Regions from separate parts of the Homo sapiens genome. Here regions 2, 3, 4, 5 and 6 are each linked to region 1. The links are contacts of gene promoters, found by promoter capture Hi-C in blood cells and fetal thymus (Javierre and others, 2016). All regions are on one chromosome and are shown on one strand. The core of a region is centred on a gene start or on the middle of the fragment in contact, and the rest is flanking DNA. Distances in the headings are between cores, read along the strand shown.

Region 1 (4,053 bases), core at 661-3,160:
GCCTTGTCTTTCAAGTTCTAAAGGGTGAACATCCCAGTTCCTTCAGCTGCTCCTCAAGGGGCACAGCCTCCAACCTTGCCGCATGGGGGTCACTTCCTGTCTGCAGCTGGCCTCTCAGACCTGCCACAGTTTCCAATGCACTCTAACACGAGGACTGATACTCATTTTGCCATAAACTCACTCCCTCTATCAATGAGGCCTCTTAAGGATTGGTCAGTTAATCATTAAGTCAATCAGTCCTGGAGTGCTATGCCAAGTGCCCAAGGGGAGCTAGGCTGTCCACGTGCTGTGGGGGAGGCAGGAGGGCCTTGGCAAGGGGCTCATGCCGTTGCTGGAGAAACCCGAGGAAAGCATGGGCATCAAGGTGATAAGATGCCAATCATAGTGCCTTCATGGATGGCTAACTTTTGCAGCAAGGGCTGTGAACATGCTAAGGATGATATGGTAGCAAAAGATTCCATAGAGATGTAGCTTAAGGAAAGAACTAAGTGAATTAGGTCCAAGCAGTCGCATGTGAGCACCCTAGATCAGTGGAGAGGCAGGGATTTAATACAAGGAACTGGGTGCTTACAGACCTGCTGCAAGTGCCGGAGGCAGAAGCAAGCCTTAGCCAGACCAGGACCAACTCTCAGGACAATATGGACGTGGCCCACCAGCCTCGTGCCTGTCTGAGGCTACTTCAGACACCCTCCTGCAGCCTCCATTCAAAGAGCAGGAAGCCAGGTCAAGGAGCGGCTACAGCCACAGCGGCCGGTCCACAGCCAGAAAGCTGGAGAAGGGACAAGGAATGCTGCCGCAGAACATCTCCCATTTCTGCTATCCTGCTAGTGCCACCCTACAGGGGCAGGACAATACCCTCCAATGCGTGCCCGCCTTCCACATCCGGCAGAGTACTACTAATTGGCAGCACCTAGTCCACATCCAGAACTCTAACTGCAAATGAGGCTGGGAAACATGGCGGTTAGCTTTGGGACCTCCCTAGCCAGAAGGAAGGTGCAGCGAGGGTGGAGCGAGTGAGATGCATGTTCAGTGGTCCATCTTGGCAACCTTTATAGCAACAAAATGGAGACAATTAAATGTCCAACAGTTTACCCCTACAACAGAATTCTATGCCACCTTGGAGAGGATGATGTCATCTGTAATTAGTGATAGGAGAAAACTTCAAAATACAGCGCTAAGTTTTTAAATTTTTTTTAAAGCAGCACAACAGAGGTTACTATATGATTTTATTTTTATTAAAATAATTTTGAAAGATGCAGAGGAAACAATACTAGCAGGACGAACACCGTAATAATGGCTACCGTAGGTGAAGAGATTACAGGTGATATTTTTCTTCTTTTTTCATCCTTTCCTGTGTTTTCCAAGCTTTCTACACTGTGCATACATTCTTTTTGTCCTTAGGACAAAAATGTACTTTGAAAAATGCCCAAATATAAAATCTTCTTGAAGGAACTGAAGAAAGGAGCAGTGAAAGTGGAGGACAGAAATTAGTGAATCCTGGACAAAAAAAGTGAGGGAGAGGCGAGGCAGAGAAGGGGTTAAGGGGAGTCTCAAGGATGGCAGTCGATTAAGCAGCGTCTTGCAGCGGGGAGAAATGCAAAGTGTAGTTGGGGTTCGGTCTCCGAAAACTTTGCTGTGTGACCTGGGGAAGCCCCTGCCCCTCTCTGGGTATCTCTGTTTCCGCTCCCAAACCAGTGCCTTAGGAGCCTAGATCTGAGCAACGTGGACACTGGGCTTGCGGAGACCCGAGGGAGGGAGCGCTGAAGCGGTGCGGGCTGCCGGGGGTAGAGGGGCGGGGACCGGGAAAGACCGGGCGGGGCGAGGGAGGAGCGGCCTTGGCCGGCGACAGGACGTAGGCAGCGCCCCAGGCGCAGGCGGAGCCTCATTGGCCGCTGAGCCCCGGGCTGCGCGGAGGCGGGACCTGCGGCCAGCCCTGGGCGGCCATGTGGACAGAGCTGGGAGGGCCGGAACCAGAACCCAAGCGTGATCCTGAACCGGAGCCCGAGCCTGCTGCAGGTAACTAACGCTGGTCTCCCCTCGGCTCCCTCGGGAAGCCGCAGCTCCTGGCTCCGCGTGGGGGCTTTCCTCTCTGGGCCGCGGCGTCCGCATCTGGGGGCTGGCCTTTCCGCCGTTGCACTGTAGGACTCTCTCCACGTCCCCTAATCCCATCCCCCGCCTCTGGGTGACGCTACAGGAGCCCCGAGGACACAGACGCCCCCAGACCTTACCACGTTAGCTCGACCTCAACACTCCTGCCCACTCGGCCCACTTCAACAGAGGGCCCCTGACCATAGCCCAGAGGCTTGGACAAGCCCAAAGGTTGCGCCCTTTCCCCCGCAGAAGGGGTGAGGTGGGCGCCGCTGCAGTTCCCGCGGATAGAGAAGGTCCGGTCCTTCCCGCTGTGGGTGAACTGTAAAAAATTGCCTGTATTCAGGAGGATATGCAAAGCTAGGTTTGTGGAAGTCTGGGGTGAGGCTCCTATACTTTCTTGCTGTGTGTCCTCGGTGAGTCCCTGAACCTCTCTGATGCCCAGCCTTCTTCCAGAATGGGGGTCATCATCAACCCTGACCACCCAGGGACTGCAGAGAGGCTTGGCAAATTTCCCGTGAGAAGACAGCCTGCAAACTGTAAAGCATGATGCTCTGTGAGCTGTGATCTTCCTATCAGCAAGTGGAGGCCCCAGCAAGAACCCCATATAGGCCCCAAGAGTAGGAACGGCCTTGGTGTGGCTGCAAAGGTTTGCCAGCCTTGGCCTATGACCACCTCTCCTGACTGCTTCACCCCTCCAATCCTTACCCCATGGGTTGGTGACTCCCCTTTCCCCTACCTCCTTTTGGTCTCCTCACCCTCAGAGCCAGGCCTGTTGGTGGCAAGGGGGCTGTGTCCCAGCATATGGCAAAGTCCTGAGCTAAATGGAACCCTGGGCACCCCTGGCAGATCTGCTGACTCAGCTTCCCCCTGTGGGATATGATGAGGTTTCTCTTCAAATAATCTGATCAATCTTTTATTCTTTAATTCTTAGTATCCCCCCCTTTTTTTTTTTCATTTTTCTCCTTTTTGCCTTTGTTAGATGCCCAGGCATGCCACAGTACCAAGCGTTATCAGTACCAGCTCACATTCCTTTGCTTATTTGGAAAGAAGACTAACTTTCTAGCTCATTACAGACACCCTTTCCCCTTTCTCTCCACTTTCTTTTACGTGCCCACTCTATCTAAAATAAATCAAATGTTTAGCCAACCGGGATTAGTTTAGATTGTACGACCTGACCCCAGCCAATGGGGAAAGGGTACAGGGGCAGGACTTGCATCAGGAATAAAGGCTCTCGTGCCCCTTTGTTCAGGTGTGCTCTCATGGCAACTGGCCAAGGAGGCATCCCTCTGCGCAGAAGTAAAATTGCTTTGCTAAGAATCCTGTGTTCGAGTGTTCAATTTCCTTAGGATTTTGAGCATTATTCCTAACACCCGCAAGGGGAAGGGAAACTTTCTTGGTCAGCATTGATTATTATTATTTTTTTTAGATACAGTCTTGTTCTGTTACCCAGGCTGGAGTGCAGTGGCACAATCATGGCTCACTGCAGCCTCAACCTCCTGGGCTCAGGTGATTGCCCCCACCTCAGCCTCCCAAGCAGCTAGAACTACAGGCATGCACCACTATGCTCGGCAAATTTATTTTTGTTTTTTTGTAGAGACACGGTTCTTGCTATGTGCTCAGGCTGGTCTCAAACTCCTGGCCTCAAGCAGTCCTTCCACTTCGGCCTACCAAAGCGTTACCAGCGTAAGCCACCACGCCCATCACATTGATTTTTATGGGGCCGGGGACCTACATGGAGCCTTGCTTTCCTGATTGAGTTTTTTGTTCCTCTCCCTGCCCAGGGGTGGAGGGTGAGAGGCTGGGGGTGAAGGGACAGGCAGGTGCAATTCCATTTTACCGCTGGGCGGAGCAAGACTCATGAGACATCAAAGGCAGAGAGATTCAAATTCTGACTGAAGAATAACTGCTTCAACTAATCTGGGAACACTACACTCTGTTTAATTTTCATTTAATATGTATTAT
Region 2 (4,053 bases), core at 787-3,286, 620 kb before region 1:
CCGAAATCACACCACTGTAGTCCAGCCTGGTGACAGAGCGAGACTCTGTTTCATACACACACAAAGTCTGGAGGGCTGGAGGACTACTTGAACCCAAGAGTTAGAGGCTGCAGAGAACTGTGGTCACACCACTGCACTTCAGCCTGGGTGATGCAACACAGTGAGACCCTGTCTCTAAAAAAAAAAAAAAAAAACAACAATAATAATAATTAAAAGTTTATTAGTCTTACCTGCAGCAGGGTGACAGCGCCCCCACCCCGTCCAAGACAGGGCCTTGCTCTGCTGCCCAGGCTGGAGGGCAGTGGCACAATCAGCTTACTCCAGGCTCAATTGATCCCCCTACCTCAGCTTCCCAAGTAGCTGGGACCACAGGTGGGCGCTACCATGCCCAGCTAATTTTTTGTTGAGTTGGGGTTTCACCGTATGGCCCATGCTGGTGTCGAACTGCTGGGCTGAAGTTACCCACCTGCCTCACCCTCCCAAAGTGCTGAGATTGCAGGCATGAGCCACGGTGCCTGGCCAACAGTCCCTTTTTTGAGGCAGTTAAGTTCAGAGGGTCAGTGAGCAGTGCATGACTTACAGATGTGCAGTTTTAACATATTATCTGTCCACCAACATTTAAACTGAAAAATAACTGGAAGATTTGTGAGATGTTTAGAACTTTTTGGTTGTTATTGGAGTTTGGCTTCTTCACAGAAATAAGCTAAGAACAACATTTCTTCAAGGAGAGTCATTTTATTATGAATCATTGTGCAAAGAACATAAACTAAATTGTAAGCTCTTCTAGGGCAACACCCAAATATCCTAATTTTGAATTCTGTACTTCAAAGTGATTATAAAGGAATAAGACTTTTTATAAAACAAACGTATCATATAGCTCATATATGCAAAGGAGTTTTATCCTTTCAAATAAGTCCCTGTATCGCTTAAAACATTTTTGGAAGTTCTATCTAAAATTTTGTTTCATGTGAGGCAGGTGTCAGCACCGAAAAGGTACTAGGTCCACTTCACACTATTCCACCTGGTTAGACCATACTCATGATGGCCAGTCAGTTATGGGACCGTAAACAAAATGATACTGGACTAGCTTAGAACAAGTTCAACTTGTCCTGAATGATGAAGGGACTTGAAATTCAAAGAAGAGTTGACAGAACTGAGGCTACAATCTGGAGACTAGAGGATTCCTAGGGGCATGATCACTGCCTTCAAGTTTCTGAATGGCCATCTTTTGGAAGGGCCATCTTACTTGCATGGTTTGGCCTTGGGGGAATAGACCTAGGATGAATGAGTGGAAGTCTCAAAGAAAACAGAATTTTGCTCAAGATCAAGAAGAATTTCCTATCAGCTGGTACTATCAAAACTGGAGTGGGTTGTCCCAGGATGCATGAACTCCCTGTCACAAGAGCTGTCCATTGAGTGGCCACATGGCCTCTTGGAGAAGTCATAGAGAACAGACAATGAATGGGTGGTTAGAGTGATACAGTTAACACTATTGAGACCCCTTCCAAGCCTTGGCATGTTAATTATCCCAGTAATCTGAACCTTTCTCTTTAATCCTGAAGTCTTAGGTAGAAAATCTTTCCTGTGCTTCTTACAAGGCAGCAAATGTAATCTGACTGAGTCATGACTCAGTCTGAGGGACTTCATGACTAAGGAACATCTTATAAAGGGACATCAGTTTCTGTACTCTGACACTAAATGGCCTCAAGTTGATGGACTTCTTGTGACTCCTTTTTGCAGTTTTCAGAGCCCGCCCTTTTATATTTTTGAGACAGGGTCTCCTCTGTCACCCAGGCTGGAGTGCAGTGGTGCAGTCACAGCTCATTGCAGCCTTGATATATGTCCCAGGCTCAAGTGATCATCCAACTTCAGCCTCCAGAGTAGCTGGGACTACAGGCACACACCAGCACACCCTGTTAATTTTTTTTTTGTTATTTGTAGAGACAGGATCTCCCTATGTTGCTCAGGCTGGTCTTGAACTCCTGGGCTCAAGCAGTCCTCTGGCCTTGGCCTCAAAGTGTTGTGTGAGGCACTTCACCTGGCCCCTTTCTTTTAATTGGGCTCTCTCTTCTCACACCCTAATGCCACTTGTTGCAGTGGTGCACCTGTCTTGAATCTTGTCTACCTTTTCCTCTAATTTGATGCTGCCTTTTGGCAATGAGCTGGAAGTTCCAGATATCCAGAATTGGGTCTTACTGAGTTAGGGCTCAGAATGTGCTCTGATTGATTAGACTGCTTGGGCCTTTTGATGCCTACTGTGGCTGCAGATGTGCCTCTTTTGCTTATTTCCCTCTTGGTTCTAAGTGGCAGTGAGTGGAGGACTGTGGATGAGTGACCCCCCAAAAAGTAAGATATTGTCACATAAGCTCTTGAGACAGTTAACTCATTATCTGCAGTTTCTTCCATTCCACAATAGGCTACTTATTTTTAATGCTGTATTACATTGAGAATATACTCATGTATAATTTTTATAAGAAAAATATTTAACTATATATTTACAGAAGGTGACATTTCAAAAGGCCCGGGAATACTCTGTCAAGACCGCACGCTTGCCAATCCAGGAATACATGGTCAGAAACCAGAATGGGAAAAACTATCATTCAGAGATACTGGCCATCAATCAAGGTACTTCTTACACGGCCCCCATCCAGGGTGTGTGAGTTCTGGTGCTGCTGCTTTGCACTGTGTTTAAGTGGCCTTTGAGTCAGTCTCCTCTGTGACTAATGTGTGTGGACTTTATTGCATGTACGTCATGACATATATTCTGGCCACTAAGAGGCATTCTGTTTTCTTCGTCACCAACTATGTTAAAGATAGTTGAAATTGTCCCCTTGGCCAGGTGCAGTGGCTCACACCTGTAATCCTGTAATCCACTTTCAGAGGCCGAGGTGGGTGGATCACCTGAGGTTAGGAGTTCGAAACCAGCCTGGCCAACATGGTGAAACCCCATCTCTACTAAAATACAAAAATCAGTCAGGCGTGGTGGTGCACGCCTGTAATACCAATTATTCCAGAGGCTGAGGCATGAGAACCACTTGAACCTGGGAAGTGGAGGTTGCAGTGAGCCGAGATCACACCACTGCACTCCAGCCTGGGTGACAGTGATACTCTGTCTCAAAAACAAAAAAAAAAGCTGGGCACGGTGGCTCACACCTGTAATCCCAGCACTTTGGGAGGCTGAGGTGGGCAGATCACCTGAGGTCGGGAGGTCGAGACCAGCCTGACCAACATGGAGAAACACCGTCTCTACTAAAAATACAAAAATTAGCAGGGCATAGTGGCAGGCGCCTGTAATCCCAGCTAATCTGGAGGCTGAGGCAAGAGAATTGCTTGAATCTGGGAGGTGCAGGTTGCGGTGAGCTGAGATCGTGCCATTGCACTCCAGCCTGAGCAACAAGAGTGCAACTCCGCCTCAAAAAAAAAAAAAAAAAAAAAAAAAAAAAAAAAAAAAATTGTCCCCTTCATCTAGAATGCCCAGCTTTTAACCTCTCACCACTGAATTCCTGTTTGATCTTCAGGGTTCAGTTCAGGAGCATCTTGGCCCTTCCCCATCCCAGGCCACAGCAGAGCCCTTCTGTTTCCCATTTTACTGTGTTCCTTTCTGTTGCACCCTATCCATTCATAGGCCTGTATCTTTCAGGGTAGGCTGAGGTCCTTGAGAGCAAGCAGAGCCTGTGTCCTTGCCTCTCCCCGCAAGACCTTAGTACCACATATGGTGCAGAATAGGTTTGTTGAACGAAATATTACAGAACATCCTTTTCATTTACTCGTTCTTTTTTTCCCTCTGTGGTCACTGTGTTTTCTGTTTACTCTCTAACAGTGTTTGATATCCTGTCCACTTACTTAGAGACTCACAACTGGCCTGAAGCATTGAAGAAAGGAGTTTCTTCAGGAAAAGGCTATATTCTTCGGAACTCAGTGGAATGATGGGCCTAAGATTGCAGCTGCGTGGCCAGGTGCTCACGCCGTAATGCCAACACTTTGGTAGACCGAAGTGGGCAGATCACCTGAGGTCAGGAGTTCACGACCAGCCTGGCCAACATGGTGAAACCC
Region 3 (4,053 bases), core at 887-3,386, 600 kb before region 1:
CACCTCCACTAGGATGGCTACAATCAAAAAGACATTATAACCAGTGTTGTGGATATAGAAATTTCAGAACACTCATCTTGCTGGTAGAATTATAAAATGGTACAGCCACTTTGAAAACTGAAAAACAGTTTTGCAGCTTCTTAAAAAGTTAAACATAAAGTTACCATATAACATAGCTATTCCAGCCAGGGGTGTGGTGGCTTATGCCTGTAATCCCAGCACTGTAGAAGCCTGGGCAGGATGATCACTTGAGCCCAAGAGTTTGAGATCAGCCTGAGTAACAGAGACCCCATCTCTGAAAAGAGAAGGGACGGGAGGGGAAGGGAGGGGAAGAGAGGGGAATGGAAGGGGGGGAGGGAGGAGGAAAGAGAGGGGAGGGGAGGGAAGGGAAGGGAGAAAGAAAGAAAGGCAGGCAGACAATTCTACTTCTAGGATATACCCAAGAAAATTGAAAGCTTATGTTTACACAAAAACTTAGACATGAATGTTCATAGCATAATGATTAATAATAGCCAAAAGTATAAGTAATGCAAATGTCCAGCAACTGATAAGTGAATAAACAAAGCATGGTATATCATACAATAGAATATTATTTAAACCTAAAAGGGACTAAATGTGCTACAATGTAAAATTAATCTAGAAAATATTACGCTAAGTAAAAGGCCACATATTGTATTATTCCATTTACATGAAATGCCTTCAAACCATGGAGATAGAAAGTTGATATTTAGTTGCCAGAGGCTGGAGAGACGGGTCAGTGAGAGTCATTGTTTCACGGGTACAGAGTTTCAGTCTGGGAAGATGAAAAAGTTCTGGATATGGATGGTGGTGATGGATGCACAACAATGTGAATGTACCTAATATCACTGAACTGTATATCTAAAAATGATTAAAATGGTCAATTTTATGTTTATATATATTTTACCACAATAAAGAATTATTTTCACAGAAAAAGGAGAGAGAGAGAGAGATGAATTGAATGTGGCAAAATCCTAATAATGGAATCTAGATGATGGGCATATAGTTATTTTTTTAAATACTCTTCTCTCTAATTTTGTTTGAAAATTTTTCATAACTAAAAACATAATATGGAGACAGGCAAAATAGGTGTCTTCTTGATGACAATTCAGCCTGATGGGGCAAATATATGGAAAAACTTGTTGCAAAACAAATAACAAACACAGCTTTGACCATGCCTTTCTCCTGCCTGAAAGCCCTCTGAGAGCATCGTATCACCTACAGGGAAAAAAGACTCTCTGTGACCCTCTCCTCTGCTCACCTTGCCACCTCATCCTGCTTCTCCCTGACTTCCATTTCTTGAGCAACACCAAATCCCTTGTAAATTTCCCAAACATGCCCTGATCTGTGCCATTCTTCATGCCATGTATGCACCCTGCTTAACAATCCAGTCTCCCTCCCTCTGCTTAACCTCTCCTTAAAAACTGGCTTGATCACCAGCTCCTCCAGGGAGTATCTTCTGACCCTCTGCTGAACTGTCCCTCATCTGTGTTTCCATAGCTCACTGTCCATAATTTGTCATAGCATCAAACACACCAGATTCAGACTACCAAATTTGTGCAAATGCACATACACACTCAGATCCCAAGAACCTAGAAACCGGTATATCAAAGGCATAGTGTGAATTCTGTGAAGGAGTTTCTGTACCAGGGAAAGCTCCACTAACTTTTAAACTTGCTAGGTATTTCTCCAGCTTTATGAACATTTAATGTCAGATATCCCTGCAGAGACCACTTAAAAGTTTACTTTTGCTCTAGGCTGAAAACAGTATACCTGAGGAAAAACAGTAACATGACTTACACCTTAGAAAATATCCACTTTTAGTTTTCGCCTAAATAGTGCAGGTAATTTTGAGTCTACAAGGCTTCTGAAAAAGAGCAGGGGATGCCAGGTGCTTGGGAGTGGGGGTTGAAGGGTGGAAATGGGACTTCATGCCTAAGTATACGAATTTCAGTTTGAGAAGATGAAAAAATTCCTACCCATTGCACCCTCCAGTTCCCATCCGAAAAGACAACCACCTTCATCTACAGCTCTTTTCTCTGCTATTTTACCTCAATGTTTAAATATAATACACTGATATTGCTTGATTTCTTAATTTTAAGAGAATGTGTTGACTTCCTGACAAGGTAGATGTGGTTTTGGCTCTTCCTATTTCCACACTCTTCATCCCTCCCTCTCCACGCTTTGCTAACACACGGCATAGTTACAGCACAATTTCTGGTTAAATCAGAAGCCATTTTTTACAATATTACCAGTGCAAATATTGTTATCTGCCTTGACAGATTGTACATTTTATGCAATCCTTTATTTTTCATGGAGTTGGTGATTGCCTCGTTTCAGTCCATTGTTTGTTATTCTATATACTTTGTTAATTTCTTCCACTATTCTGGCATTGGAGTCTTTTGCCTCGCCTTAATAGATTGCAACATTCCATTTCCATTTTTCCTCTGGAGACTTCCCACTCTGTGCTCCTCCCACTTTGGGGGGGCTGCTCTTCAGGCCTGCTGCACAGCTGTCTTTTCTTTAATTGTGGTAAAATATGCATAACAAAATTTATCATCTTAACAATTTTTACATGTACATTCAGTACATACACAGTGTTAAGTGTATTCATACTGTTGTGCAGCCATCACCACCATCCATCTCCAGAACTCTTCTCATCTTGCAAAACTGAAATTCTGTACCCATGAAACAATACCTCCCCATCCCCACCTCACCCTAGTGCCTGGCATCCACCATTCTTCTTTCTGTCTCTGTGAATTTGACGACTCTAGGTACTGCATAGAAGTGGAAACATACAGTATATATATCCTTTCGTGACTGGCTGATTTCACTTGGCATAATATTCTCAAGGTTCATACACGTTGTAGCATGTGTCATATTTCCCTCCCTTTTTGTACACCTGTCTTTTATACCTTCCTGCACTGCTCTCCTTCTTAGATCCACTTAGATCACTTTTATTCCACTTTCTTGCTTTACCTGTCCATTTTGCTAGAGGTCCATAACCTCCGGTATCTTCTTAAATAAAGAGAATATGAGGCTGGGCACAGTGGCTCACGCCTGTAAAACAGAGTGACTCTGTCTTTTCTCAAAGATCTACTGATGGCCACACAAGGCATCTCCTTGCTGTGTTAGGTATATCATCCTATGTCCTATTTCTTGTGGCATCATTGAGCCCACAGCAGGCCTCATTTTGAACTTCCACATGTGGCATTTTTTGAAAAATCTGTAGCTGTGGCAATACTGAGCTTGCATTTCCTCGTAGTTGCCAAGTTATGGCTGCCCCCAGTAAAGGGAAATTTAGAGACAATGCTTGCAAAGCTCCTACCAATAAGCCTGGTGAAGCACTTACTCAACAAATGGAAGTTGTTCTTTTTCATGGGATTACAGTTATTCAAAGGTTCAGAATTTAAAAGTGTTCAGAAGAAAAGGGGAGCCAGACCTGATATTTGTAGATTGGCTTAGATTTGGAGGTTTTTAAAAAATACTATTGAGTTGCCATCCTTGGCAAGGAGCTTGTATGTACAGCGATAGCTATAGATCCAAGCCAATCTACAAATGTGTGTGTAGCACCTGGTTACGAGCATGGAACCTGGAGCTAGATTGCCTGGATTTGAATCCTGGCTTTACCACTCTCAGGCTGACTTTTCTTTTTTGTGTCTGTGTTTTCTCATCTCTAAAATGGGGATAATAATCGTACCAACATACCTTGAGTTTTGAGTTAATATATATGAACCAGCTTAGCATAATATTAGGCACATACTAAACATTATATGAATGTTTGCTTATTATTTTTCAATAAGCTTATATGATAGGATCACTTAACTCAGCATAATATTAGGCATATACTAAACATTATATGAACATTTGCTTTTTATTTTTCAATAAGCTTATATGATAGGATCACTTTACTCAGCATAATATTAGGCATACACTAAACATTATATGAATGTTTGCTTTTTATTTTTCAATAAGCTTATATGATAGGATCACTTTACTCCTTGAGTACATTGTTTTCTTTGGGCTACAGAAGGC
Region 4 (4,053 bases), core at 668-3,167, 580 kb before region 1:
GTGGGATAGATGAGATTACAAGAATTGCAATTTAGGATCCGCAATTTAGGTTTGGGATTGAAACTCCCCTCCCCTCACCCAGTATACCCTAGGACTAAAGGTGAATCCAGAATCGACAGTACTCATGGGGACTAAAGGCCAGCTTCAAATAATCTCATTCCCTACGTAGATTAAGAAGACCTCAGATTGCCGGCACCTCTACTCTAGCTTACTTGCCATAATTAAAGATGAATCTTCTATGGAAGAAGAAAATATGCAGCTGAGTGCCGTGGCTTACACCTTTAATCCAAGTTCTTTGGGAGGCTGAGGAGGGAAGATTAATTGAGGCCAGGAGTTGGAGACCAGTCTGAGCAACATAGTGAGAGATCCCATATCTGCAAAAAATCTAAAAATTAGCTGGGCAAGGTGGTGTGCGCCTGCCATACTAGCTACTCTGGAGGCTGAGGTGGGAGGATTGTTTAAGCCCAGGCGTTTGAGGTTACAGTGAGCTATAATCACATCACTACACTTCAGCCTGGGTGACCAAGCAAGACCCTGTCTCTAAAGAAATTTTTTTAAAAATATAATATATCATCCAGTGCTTTAAATTATCCCTATAATTTTTGTATACAGTGACGAGCACTAGTACAAAGAGATTCGTTGTCTGAAAAACCAAGAAAATCAGCAAACAATAGAAATAGACCCACAGGAGATCTGACATTAAAACTATTTAATATGTTCAAGGAATTATAAGATGGAGAAATTTAGCAGAGAACTAGAAGCTAAAAAAAGAAAACCCTAGAACTAAAAAGTACAGTAACTGATAAAAACTCACTGGATGATTTAACAGCAAACTGGACACAGCTGAAGGATTTGTGAGCTTGAGAATAGATGAGAAAAAAATATACAGAATAAAGTTCAGATTTACCAAAATGGGACATAGAGATTAAGATATGTCATAAGATACAGGGAAAAGATCTTATAAATATAAATGGAGTTTCAGAAAGATATTAAAGAGAATGAAGATAAATCAATATTTGAACAGATAATGGATGACAATTTTAAAAATTAACAAAAGACATTGTAGATTCAAGAAAGGCTATACATCTCAAGCAAGAGAAAGACAAAAAAAGCAGGCCAGGCATGGTGGCGCACCCCTGTAATCCCAGCACTTATGGAGGCTGAGGTAGTTGGATCTCTTGAGCTCAGGAGTTTGAGACCAGCCCGGCCAACATGGCAAAACCCTGACTCTACAAAAAAATTAGCCGGGTGTGGTGGCATGCGCCTGTGGTCCCAGCTACTCAGGAGGCTGAAGAAGGAGGATCACTTGAATCTGGGAGGTCAAGGCTGCAGTGAGCTGAGATTGCGCCACTGCATTCCAGCGCCACCACACTCCAAACCTTCTGAAACAAAACTGCTTCAAAAACAAAAAAAAAACCTTCCAACTGCTTTAAAAACAAAAACAAAAATCCCTACCAACTTCTTCAAAAACAAACAACAAAAAAAAGAAGAAAAAAAGACAGAAATATAAAGCCACACTTAGCTACAAGAGTAAAGCTGCTAAAACTAAAATAAAACATACATGCACAAAGACAAAGAAAATCTTAAAAGCAGCTAGAGGAAAGAGATAGATTACTTTCAAAGGAGGCTCAAAAAGAGAGCTAAGTTCACTGCAGAAACAATGGAAGTCAAGAGACAAAGATATTTCCAGACAAATATTGAGAGAATTTGCCACTATCAGATCTACACAGAAACAGGTAACAAAATTATTCTTTAGGAGGAAGGAAAAAGGTGGAAGATCAGAGGTACAGGAAAGAATGAAAAGAACAAAAATAAATATGCGTGTAAATCAAAATGAATGTGAACTTTTTTTTCATTTTTTTAGACAGAGTCTCTCTCTGTCATCCAAGCTGGAGTGCAGTGGCATGAACACTGCTCACTGCAGCCTTGACTTCCTGGGCTCAAGTAATCCTCTTGCCTCTGCCTTTTGTGTAGCTGGGACCACAGGCACACGCCAGCATGGCTGGCTAATTTTTTTATTTTTTGTAGAGACAAGGGTCTCAGTTTGTTGTCCAGGCTGGGAATGGTATAAAACATGAAAAATTTTAGTAGAGCATTAAATTTATATATAATTATATCTAAAAAATTAAATATTAGGATGGGATAAAGGAAGTTGAAGTGAGCTAAGGTTCTTGCATCATCCAGGAAGTAATAATTACGTACTTCACTTTAAAAAGTTGATGCATGATGTTAGCTCTTTAGGTATTCGCTAAAAGAAGAGTAAAAATATATTTAACATACTAAATAGCATATGGGGAGATATCAATAGCAAATGTATATATATTCTTAGAGATGGGATCTTGCACTGTTGCCCAGGCTGGAGTTCATTGGTGCTGTCACAGCTCACGGCAACCTCCAACTCCTGGGCTCAAGCAATCCTCCCGCCTGTCTCCTGGGCAGCTAGGACTGCAGCCATAAGCCACTATGCCTGGCCATTTTATTTTTTTATAGAGATAGGGTCTCCACATGTTGTCCAGGCTGATCTCCAACTCCTGGCCACAAGCTATCCTCCTGCCTTGGACTCCTAAAACACTAGGATTACAGGCATGGGCCAATGTGCCTGGCCAAAAAAATGTTTAAAGCAACTGAAAAGGGACATAGAACAGACAGGACAAATGGAAAGTAAATTCTCTGGTGACAGATTTCAACTCAAAGATTGCTAGTAGTTACATTAAATGTAATTTGACTGAGACAATGATTGTCAGATCAGATTTTTAAAAACTGCTTACAGAAGACATACCTGAAATGTAAGGATACACAAAGTTTTAAAGTAAAAGGATGTCAAGGCATACCACTGCTAGCATTAGCTAAATGAAAGTTGGTGTGTTATGTTAATATCAGACAACACAAAAAACAAATTCATACAATTTCCAAGCATTGAGATTAAGCAGTTTGTTTTTCAATGAAAGTTCAGGAAATAAATAACTAGAAAATCTCTTTATTTTTGGAAATGCTCTTTTAAATAACTTGTGAGTCAAAGAAGAAATCACAGTATAAATTATAAAATATTTGAAACTGAATGATGAAAACACTATCAAAATTTGTGCAATTGCAGCTGAAGCCATGTATAGAGGAAAATCTTAGATCCTTAAATGCAGATATTAGAAAAGAAGAAAGGCTGAATTGTCAATAAGCTAAGTAAGCATCCATCTCAAGAACTTTGAAACAGAACAACAAATTATACCCAAAGAAGGTAAAAAGAAGGAATAGAGATCAGAGTGCAATTGAACCACTTTGAAACTATTTGTCACTATATATATATATATATATATATATATATATATATATATATATATATTTGTTGTTGTTGTTGTTGTTGTTGTTGTTGAGATGGAGTCTCATTCTGTCACCCAGGCTGGAGTGCAATGGCACGATCTCAGGTTACTGCAACCTCTGCCTCCCGGGTTCAAGCGATTCTCCTGCCTCAGCCTCCCAAGTAGCTGGAATTACAGGCATGTGCCACCACGCCGGCTTTTTTTTTTTTTTTTTTTTTGTATTTTTAGTAGAGATGGGTTTCACCATGTTGGCCAGCCTGGTCTCAAACTCCTGACCTTGTGATCCGCCCGCCTCGGCCTCCTAAAGTGCTGGGGTTACAGGCGTGAGCCACCACGCCTGGCCTTCAATTTTTTTTTTAAGAGGCAGGGTCTTGCTGTGTTGCCAGGCTGATCTCAAATTCCTGGGCTCAAGTGATCCTCCTGCCTCAGCCACCCAAAGTGCTGGAATTATAGGTGAGAGCCACTGTGTCTGGCCTTTAAAGTTTAAAAATAGAAACAGAGGATATTGTGAACAACTTCATGCCAATAAAATTCTAAAGTTCAATGAAATAGGCTAATTCCTAGAAAAGTAGAAATTACCAAAACTGACATTAGTAAAAGATTAGAAAGTAGTATCATAACCAATAATACTGCATCAGTAGTTAGGTCTAGATGGTTTTATAGACTAGCACTACCAAATTTACAAGAAATAAATAATCCCAATTTATATAAACTATTCCAGTGTATAAAATAACAAGAG
Region 5 (4,053 bases), core at 442-2,941, 540 kb before region 1:
TTGAGCCCAGGAGTTGAACTCAAGGGTAGCCTGGGCAACATAGGAAGACCTCATCTCTACAAATAACTTAAAAATTTAGCCAGGTGCAGTGGCTCACGTTTGTAATCCTAGCACTTTGAGAGACTGAGGTGAGCAGATCGCTTGAGCCCAGGAGTTTGTGACCAGCCTGGGCAACATGGTGAAACCCTGTCTCTACGAAAAACACAAAAATTAGCCAGATATGCTAGCATGCATCTGTAGTCCCATCTACTCAGGAAGCTGGGGCAGGAGGATCACCTGAGCCTGGCAGGTTGAGGCAGCAGTGAGCCATGATTGTGCCCCACTGCCCTCCACCCTGGGCAACAGAGAAAGACCCTGTGTCCAAAAAAAAGGAAATGAAAAAAAAGGTTGGAATCTTTCTCCTTGTGCACAGGACCACTTCTGAAAATTCCTTTGGGAAAGTACAGACATCATTGTACTGCAGTGCCTGGCATAACTGTCAAAAGTAGAAATTTAAGTTTTACCAACTTACTTGCAAACAAGGGATTTCATAAATATACGAGTATAATCCTTTGAGATTCAAATTTGCCTTTTAAGTTAAACATGATAAGCAACTCTAACTTAGTGAGAAATAGTGATTTTGAATGTCTAGTTGGCCTATTTCAACTCAAAAACCAACAAGGTTTTCAGTTTTCTAATGGTAATTCTGATACTAAATAACATTACAGGAAATTAGACTAGTAAGAATTCTTAACATAGGTATGGGACCACTAGCAAAATGTGATGATGAAATAGACACTGCTATTTGGAGTAATATATCAGACTCCACTACCTGATACTCATTTTATTTTTTTCAATGTAAACTTTATGTCACATTTCACAGTATTCACATAAACTTGGCACAGTGGTGCATGCCTTTAGGCCCAGCTACTCAGGAGGCTGAGGCTGAGGCAGGAGGATCACTTGAACCCAGGAATTAGGAGTCCAGCCTGGGCAACATAGCAAGATCCTTGTCTCAAAAAAAAAGACTATTCACGTAATTTCAAGAATGATAATGGAAGTTTTTGGTATACTTTAAAGAAGAATCTCTTCATGTTTCTGGTAATGGGCCTGTTGTTTGGACCCTATTTTAACATAAAACAATAGGCTTAAGAGCTTAGTTTTCATTTTCATGGAATTTTTGGGTTCCATTTTAGTACAGAAATCATGAGGATCCAAAGACGCTCCTATGATTATTTGGTTTTTCATTTTTATTTCACATAGTCAAGTCTTTGATATAAAAGATTCAGAAAGGGACTAGATCTTAGAACACTTCAAAGAGCTGTCTTGCCTTCCTCAGTCTTATAGGCCAGTGATATATGAGCATTTTTTCAAAATTTTAAAACTATGGTTCGAGTAGATAATTAAAAAGTTAAGAGCCACTACCAGAGTTATGCTAGGTTTATTGTCAGAATTTTTTATATTTTTAAGATTTGACCACTTCATCAAGTTCATCTGGTCCTAGAGTTTCTGGCTCACCTTGTCATCATAGTGATTCTAATTCTTCTGAGAAACACATGTCACGAGCCTCTCAAAGAGAAGGTAGGTTAAAAGTTGGATTTTATAATCTTGTAACAACAGATTATGCCAATCTGATTAATTATTGATTGATTAAAACCAGTTTTATGGTTTTAATCCATAAAAATAAAAGCAATGGAGATGAGGTGATTTATCCCTCAGTCATCATCTTCAAAAAGCTAACCGAGAGTCCCTGGGGTTGAATATCTTGAGTTAAATCTTAATAGAACTTGAGCTTTGGTTTTATTAGCTGGACTTAGTTTGGTCTAGTTTGGAGAGGAAGTAGTTCAGAAATATAGATTTCAATCAAGATTGTTGTGAAAATTAAGTGAGATTATGCACGTGAAAGCTCTGTATAAATATAAGTCATGAATTTTCAGGTAATTGTGAAAGTCACCTGGTTACCCTCAGACTTTTTGCTCTGCCATTTCCTTGTCTGTGCAATGCCTGACAGCTTCCAAGGGTTTGTAGGATAAAGTGAGCTACCATCTGGCTCCTCTCTGTATTTCCCAGTTTTTTCCTAGCCATTCTGGCAGAACTAGTTGCTCTGCCCTATACCTTCCACCACACCCCCCCAGTTGAAATGGTTTCTGCCTATACAAATTCCACATACTGTTCCTCTTCATACTAACTGACGTCTAAGCTCTTATACCATTCATTGTTTATTCTTCTCTTTGTGAACTGAGTATTAAGAGCCAGAGATGGCTTGCTTTTTTTTTTGTCATTTTGGGTCACTTTTGGAGATAGACATTTCTCTACCTTGTTATTTTGGGCAGAGACTAAATCTTAGACTTCTAATTTGTGTTTTCACTGGGTGGCTTTGCCTAGTAGATGCTGGTTATCTTGCATGGCTACTTATGTCAGTAGAATGGTTTAAGAGCTCTTTCTAACCTATATGGCCTATCCACTTGCCTCTGGATATTGAAGTCTGTGATATTTCACTTTAAGGTTAAAGGCTCCTCCTCTTAAATTTAAAGATTTATGCCCAGAAGTATAACATTTTTCCTTTGATTTGTAACACAAACATCTTTTGCAGATTCTTCCTGTTCTCCTTCCACTTGTGCTATGGGAAACAAGTCAAGGCTTCTAATAATCATTGAGAAAAATCTTTATTGATTGACTACACCATCCACAAGAAAAAGAAACTTAATTTAAGAAGAATAGTTAACATGCTTGCTTGTTATTGACCAGTGGTAAACACACAAACACAAATATACAGCAGTTCTATGCCACAGAGAGTTAAGAATGAGGGAAGAGATGATATATGAGGAGGCTGGGAAGAAGAGGAAAATGAGAGGGTGAAAAGAGAGGGAAAACATGGGAGAAGGTGGGGCTTATAGGTGAAGTTGCTCTAAATGTTGGAAATCCTGGATCTTCAGATGTCAGAGTATGTTAACACTATCCTTTGGCAGATATAATAGCTGTATAGAGCAGAGGCTTTCAAATGCATTTCAGCATTAGAACTCTATTTTTGACATGAAATCTGCTGTGGATTCTTAGAGATGTAGCACAAATAAAATCAAAGTAGCTCTGGTTCAAGAAAAATTAGGGAGGCTCTTGACCCTCCAGCCTTCCCCACTCCATCTACACCTCAGCCCACACGTGGTTCCCCACTTTTGCCATCTCCTGAGGAACCCCAAAGGAGCACAGTTAGCAAACCACCTACTTAGAATGCATTTCTTGTCTGGTTTTGTTATAGGTTTTCCAAATTAATTCTTAAAATAAGAGTATATTTTTCTCTAAAATTGTTAAAGTTCAATCATATGTGAAATAGTTATTTCAGTATAGTTTTGTTATAGCAGTGTAATTTAGAGCTTCACAGGTTTCTGTTAATGATGTAGTAATCTGAAGGGAATCTTTAGAAAGAAGGTAACACATCTGCTTGACAAGCAATTCACAAAGGATCTGACAGAGGGAGCTCAATACCTTCAAAATAACTCCTTCCACAGTCAGAGAAGTGTTGAAATATTTCTCTTGCTATTAAATTTCTAAGTTGCTTCCTTACAGTGTCTATGAAAGTGGTTTTTCACGCACCTGAAGGATATAACATATTCCTATTATTAACAGTGCCTTACTCCAGCAGTCATTTTCATTGGGAGTTAGGTAGAAGGAAATGATGAGGCATAGTAGAGTCTATGATTGGCAATGTCTCCCATCCCTTGTTTTGACATGCCTTTATGTGAGGTGTCCTTTCTTACCTCCAACATTTTATTTTTTGTTTATAGTGTTGTTATTGCAGGTGCTTAAGTCCTGATCTTTTTATTTGCTTAAAAGGCAATCCTCATGGCTTCCAAGTATTTCCTTCTCTGGACCAGAAAGCACCAGGACCAATGAGAGGAGAATTGTTACCTTTTACCTTTCTAGAGTCCTTTCATGTCACATAACTTTGGTTCTTACTTAAATAAAGAGCTTTCTGAGATGTAAGATCCAAATAAAAGAACCCCTAGTCAGCTTCTATGCCTTAGCCTTAGGTCAGTGACAATTACTGCTGTGGGAACTTGGATCTTTTGTTCTATT
Region 6 (4,053 bases), core at 636-3,135, 520 kb before region 1:
TCTATTTGGCAGTGTGTCCCAGTGAGTATACTAGGCAGAAATAGACTGCCATTTTAGGCCTTAGAATCAGGTTCTTATCCCTGACTCCCCCACCCTTACAGGAGAGTACTCAAGACCATGGGCAAGTACTCTTGGGAGCTTTATCATTGTCTGCTCACCAAGTATTAGAAGCATCTGCTGTAATACCGCATTAATTAGCTCTGACTTTGTCCTAGTCAGGGAGTGTCATTCTCATTCTTTGGAGAGACTTCATGCTATCCCCTACCTCATGGCATTACATCCCCTCTTGGGAAAGTCCAATTTTTGTATAACAACCACTGGGCCTGTCCCTGAGTTTTCCTCCAGGCTCCTCCCTTTTGGCAAAGGACAAAAAAAAGTGGTGCTCAAACTTTACTGTGCATTAGAATCACCTGGAAAATGTGTTAAAATAGATTGCTGGGTCCCCATCCAGAGTTTCTGATTCTGTAGGTCTGGAGTGGGAGCCCTAGTTTTGCATTTCTAATCAGTCCTCCACTGATGCTGTAGGTCTTAGGGACCACAGTTTGAGAACCACGGATATAGAAAATGCAGTTAAGATTTAGATCTTCCATGGATGACAGATGCCATGGATCTCTGTGTAGATAACAGAAGTCCATTTAGAGAACCTCCTACCTTTTTGAGGCCAATATAGAAGAACAATGTGTCCCTTCAGCTACATCATTTTCAGTACATTATCAGGTTTGCACTTCTTGAACTAGAGCTAAGAGTTCCCTGATTAAAACATGATATTGGCCGGGTGCAGTGGCTCATGCCTGTAATCGTAGTACTTTGAGAGGCCAAGGCAGGCAATCACCTGAGGTCAGGAGTTCAAGACCAGCCTGGCCAACATGGTGAAACCCCGTCTCTGCTAAAAGTACAAAAATTAGCCAGGTGTAGTGGCGCAGGCCTGTAATCCCAGCTACTTGGGAGGCTGGGGCAGGAGAATTGTTTGAACATGGGGGGTGGAAGTTGCAGTGGGCCGAGATCGTGGCATTGCACTCCAGCCTGGGCAACAAGAGCGAAACTCTGTCTCAAAAAACAAAACAATAAAACAAAAACATGATATTTACATTACTGGGCAGTTAAGTAAGCTAAGATGATCTTACCTTCTCAGGAACAGACCTGGTGCTGTGTAGCTTATCTTTTAACTCAAAATGAGAGAGCAGCTACAGAAATATACACTCCCTGGTATAAGCTGTAAATAGCTGCAACTGTTGCTAACAATAGCAATAAATCCAGAAAAGGAACAACTGAAACTTTAACCAGAGCATACACAACTCAAAATACTTTTTAGCCTTAAAAAGTGTTTTAAAAAAAGTTATTTCCAGGGAGCCGGGTGAGGTAGCTCACGCCTATAATCCCAGGACTTTGGGAGGCTGAGGCAGGCAGATCACCTGAGGTCAGGAGTTCGAGACCAGCCTGGCCAACATGGCAAAACCCTGTCTCTACTAAAGATACAAAAAACTAGCTGGGCGTGGTAGTACATGCCTGTAGTCCCAGCTACTCAGGAGGCTGAGGCAGGAGAATCACTTGAACCTGGGAGGTAGAGGTTGCAGTGAGCCGAGACTGCACCACTGCAAGCCAGACCCTGTCTCAAAAAAAACAGTTGTCTCCTTGCAAGTTGTTTAAATTATGAGTACTTTAGAATGCTTTGTTGACATTACTTGTTAAAGTTCTTCTCTATAAAAGGTTAGTTTTTGTTGGGGTAAAATGAAGGATCCAAATTTAATTGTGAAATGGTTACTTTTTAAAAGTTAAAATACAGAGCATCAGATTTGTTCTAAACACATTGCATTTATTCTTAAATAGTTTTTTTCTTGCATACTTAATAAATGTATGTAATTAAAAGAAAGATTTCCTGGCGTTTATTTAAAGTTGCAGTGTATTGCAGGAAAATCATAATTTTCCTAGTAGCCTGGTCCCTGCTAGTCAGGAGGTGGGTAGACCCCTTATTGCTGGGCAGTCTTAGGAAAGAATGCTTTTTCGTTGTTGTTGTTTGTTTGTTTTGAGACGGAGTCTCGCTCTGTCGCCCAGGCTGGAGAGTAGTGGTGTGATCTTGGCTCACTGCAAGCTCTGCCTCCCAGGTTCAAGCCATTCTCCTGCCTCAGCCTCCAAAGTAGCTGGGACTACAGGCACCTGCCACCACGCCCGGCTAATTTTTTTCTATTTTTAGTAGAGACGGGGTTTCACCGTATTAGCCAGGATGGTCTTGATCTCCTGACCTCGTGATCCATCCGCCTCGGCCTCCCAAAGTGCTGGGATTACAGGCGTGAGCCACTGCGCCCAGCAGGAAAGAATGTTTGAAAGATTGGCCTCTGTTTTAGCCACCAGCCCTGTCACATTCAGGAGGGGATAGTCCAGACCTCAGTGGGAGGGAACTGCCATATTATCATCATTAGTGGGGAAGACAAGTAAATTTCTAGGCCACAGGCTTGTGTTCCCTTCTAGCAAGTATTTCAGTGGTATCTTATAACTTCATAGCAATCTAAGAATAGCATACTAAAAGAGCTAAACTGAGTTTCTCAATTATTCAGCAATAATGATAAACCCCCTAATGGTTTTTCCCAACATTTTATTATGAAAATGTCCAAACAGCAAAGTTAAAAGAACTTTACAGTGAACACTGTTTACCAAGGTTTTACCATTAATATTTTACTTGTTTTATCCCTTAACTAACTCTGTCCATCAGTCCATCTTGTTTTATTTATTTTTTTGAGACGGAGTCTCTCTGCGTCGCCCAGGCTGGAGTGCAGTGGTGCAATCTCGGCTTACTGCAACCTCCGTCTCCCAGGTTCAAGTGATTCTCCTGATTCAGCCTCCCAAGTAGCTGGGGTTACAGGCACCCACCATCACGCCTGGCTAATTTTTGTATTTTTAGTAGAGATGGGGTTTCACCATGTTGGCCAGGCTGGTCTTGAACTCCTGACCTCAGGTGATCCACCTGTCTCAGCCTCCCCAAGTGCTGGGATTTACAGGTGTGAGCCACTGCACCCAGCCTAATCCATCTTAATTTTTGATGCATTTTAAATTGCTGACATCTGTACCCATCCTTCTAAAAGTCCTCACATGACTAGAGTTTAACATTTGTTTTTTTCTTTTGTTGTAAAATTTACATAGAATGAAGTACACAGATTAACTCTACATTACTTAAATTTATATAAATGTATACACCTGTGTAACCCAAACATCTGTCAACATATAGAGTACTACCACCATCCCAGCAAGTTCTCTCCTGCCTCTTCCAGGTGAACCTCTGCCCCCATCCTCCCAGAGGGAAACACTGTTTGTTTGTTTGTTTGTTTCTGCTACAGATTTTCCTCTTCTAGAACTTCACGTAAGTGAAATTATCCATTATGTATTCCTCTTGATGATTTCTAAAAGAAATTCTTAAGAAATTAAAAGGGTTTCCGAAACAAGGAGAATAATTGATAAAGAAAATATCAGAGATCAGATTGATTACTTCATTAAATGTATTTATTATGAGAACCTCTAATCTGTGGATATAGAAATCTGAAAGACAGACCCTGCCCTCGAGGAGATCACATTGTCCTGGCAGATAAAGTACAAACATGCAGTTAGAGACAGGCAAGAAACAGTTATCACTTGGCACAGAAGGGGCCTAATCCAGCCTGGGAGGCGATGGAGAAATCAAGAGACATTTACATTTTCACTTTGGAACTTGTCTCGGGCAGCCAGTGCTCTTTATTTTCCATAAAAGTCTAGAACCTCTTAACTCAAAATGATTTGTCCTGAAATGGCAGTTTTACAACACTGAGTAGGTGTAACACAAACTCGCTAAATAAAATAAATGAGGAAAAACTGTAAAAGGCACAAACTGAAATTATTGGGGATTCTGTTTTCCTCTAGTTCGAGTTGAAATAGACTCAAATAGATGTGTTATTGCTCCCAAACACAAATAACATGCATTCCTGTTCTTGGATCACAAGTGGCAGAAGCTTTCAAGAGCTCTAGATAGCAACAGCAAAACTTTAATCTTCTTGGACTTCCCTTTAACCTTCTCAAGGTATATAAAAC

What was found. Contacts are between HindIII fragments. The CHiCAGO score rates a contact against its expected background, and 5 or more counts as called.
Region 2: a fragment that was not itself captured here is called in contact with the fragment with the promoter of ALDH1B1 in region 1 in 5 of 17 cell types (M0 macrophages, monocytes, M2 macrophages and 2 more); the score reaches 7.8 in M0 macrophages.
Region 3: a fragment that was not itself captured here is called in contact with the fragment with the promoter of ALDH1B1 in region 1 in 3 of 17 cell types (monocytes, M1 macrophages and M2 macrophages); the score reaches 7.9 in monocytes.
Region 4: a contact is called between a fragment that was not itself captured here and the fragment with the promoter of ALDH1B1 in region 1, in 1 of 17 cell types (monocytes). The highest score is 7.1, in monocytes.
Region 5: a contact is called between a fragment that was not itself captured here and the fragment with the promoter of ALDH1B1 in region 1, in 3 of 17 cell types (M2 macrophages, M0 macrophages and monocytes). The highest score is 6.6, in M2 macrophages.
Region 6: a fragment that was not itself captured here is called in contact with the fragment with the promoter of ALDH1B1 in region 1 in 1 of 17 cell types (M0 macrophages); the score reaches 5.5 in M0 macrophages.

The regions. Positions count from the first base shown.
Region 1 is chr9:38,390,792-38,394,844 of GRCh38, forward strand. ALDH1B1 (aldehyde dehydrogenase 1 family member B1) reads left to right here and starts at 1,911. Exons shown (of 2, transcript NM_000692.5): 1 at 1,911-2,016. RefSeq lists a silencer at 1,678-1,997 and enhancers at 2,208-2,257, 2,298-2,387. The HindIII fragment of the contact is 5,526 bases long and covers 1,364-4,053 here.
Region 2 is chr9:37,773,781-37,777,833 of GRCh38, forward strand. TRMT10B (tRNA methyltransferase 10B) reads left to right here. Exons shown (of 9, transcript NM_144964.4): 8 at 2,502-2,625; 9 at 3,821-4,053. The coding sequence ends at 3,927. Among named protein-coding and RNA genes, the nearest start is that of EXOSC3, 9.3 kb to the right of the region's middle. The HindIII fragment of the contact is 5,813 bases long and covers 1-4,053 here.
Region 3 is chr9:37,793,994-37,798,046 of GRCh38, forward strand. All of the region lies in intron 2 of LOC105376037 (a long non-coding RNA gene), which reads right to left. Among named protein-coding and RNA genes, the nearest start is that of DCAF10, 4.8 kb to the right of the region's middle. The HindIII fragment of the contact is 3,366 bases long and covers 454-3,819 here.
Region 4 is chr9:37,810,791-37,814,843 of GRCh38, forward strand. All of the region lies in intron 1 of DCAF10 (DDB1 and CUL4 associated factor 10), which reads left to right. Among named protein-coding and RNA genes, the nearest start is that of DCAF10, 12 kb to the left of the region's middle. The HindIII fragment of the contact is 4,860 bases long and covers 1-4,053 here.
Region 5 is chr9:37,855,792-37,859,844 of GRCh38, forward strand. DCAF10 (DDB1 and CUL4 associated factor 10) reads left to right here. Exons shown (of 7, transcript NM_024345.5): 5 at 1,450-1,560. Among named protein-coding and RNA genes, the nearest start is that of SLC25A51, 46 kb to the right of the region's middle. The HindIII fragment of the contact is 4,995 bases long and covers 1-4,053 here.
Region 6 is chr9:37,871,685-37,875,737 of GRCh38, forward strand. No RefSeq gene overlaps it. Among named protein-coding and RNA genes, the nearest start is that of SLC25A51, 30 kb to the right of the region's middle. The HindIII fragment of the contact is 4,174 bases long and covers 1-3,972 here.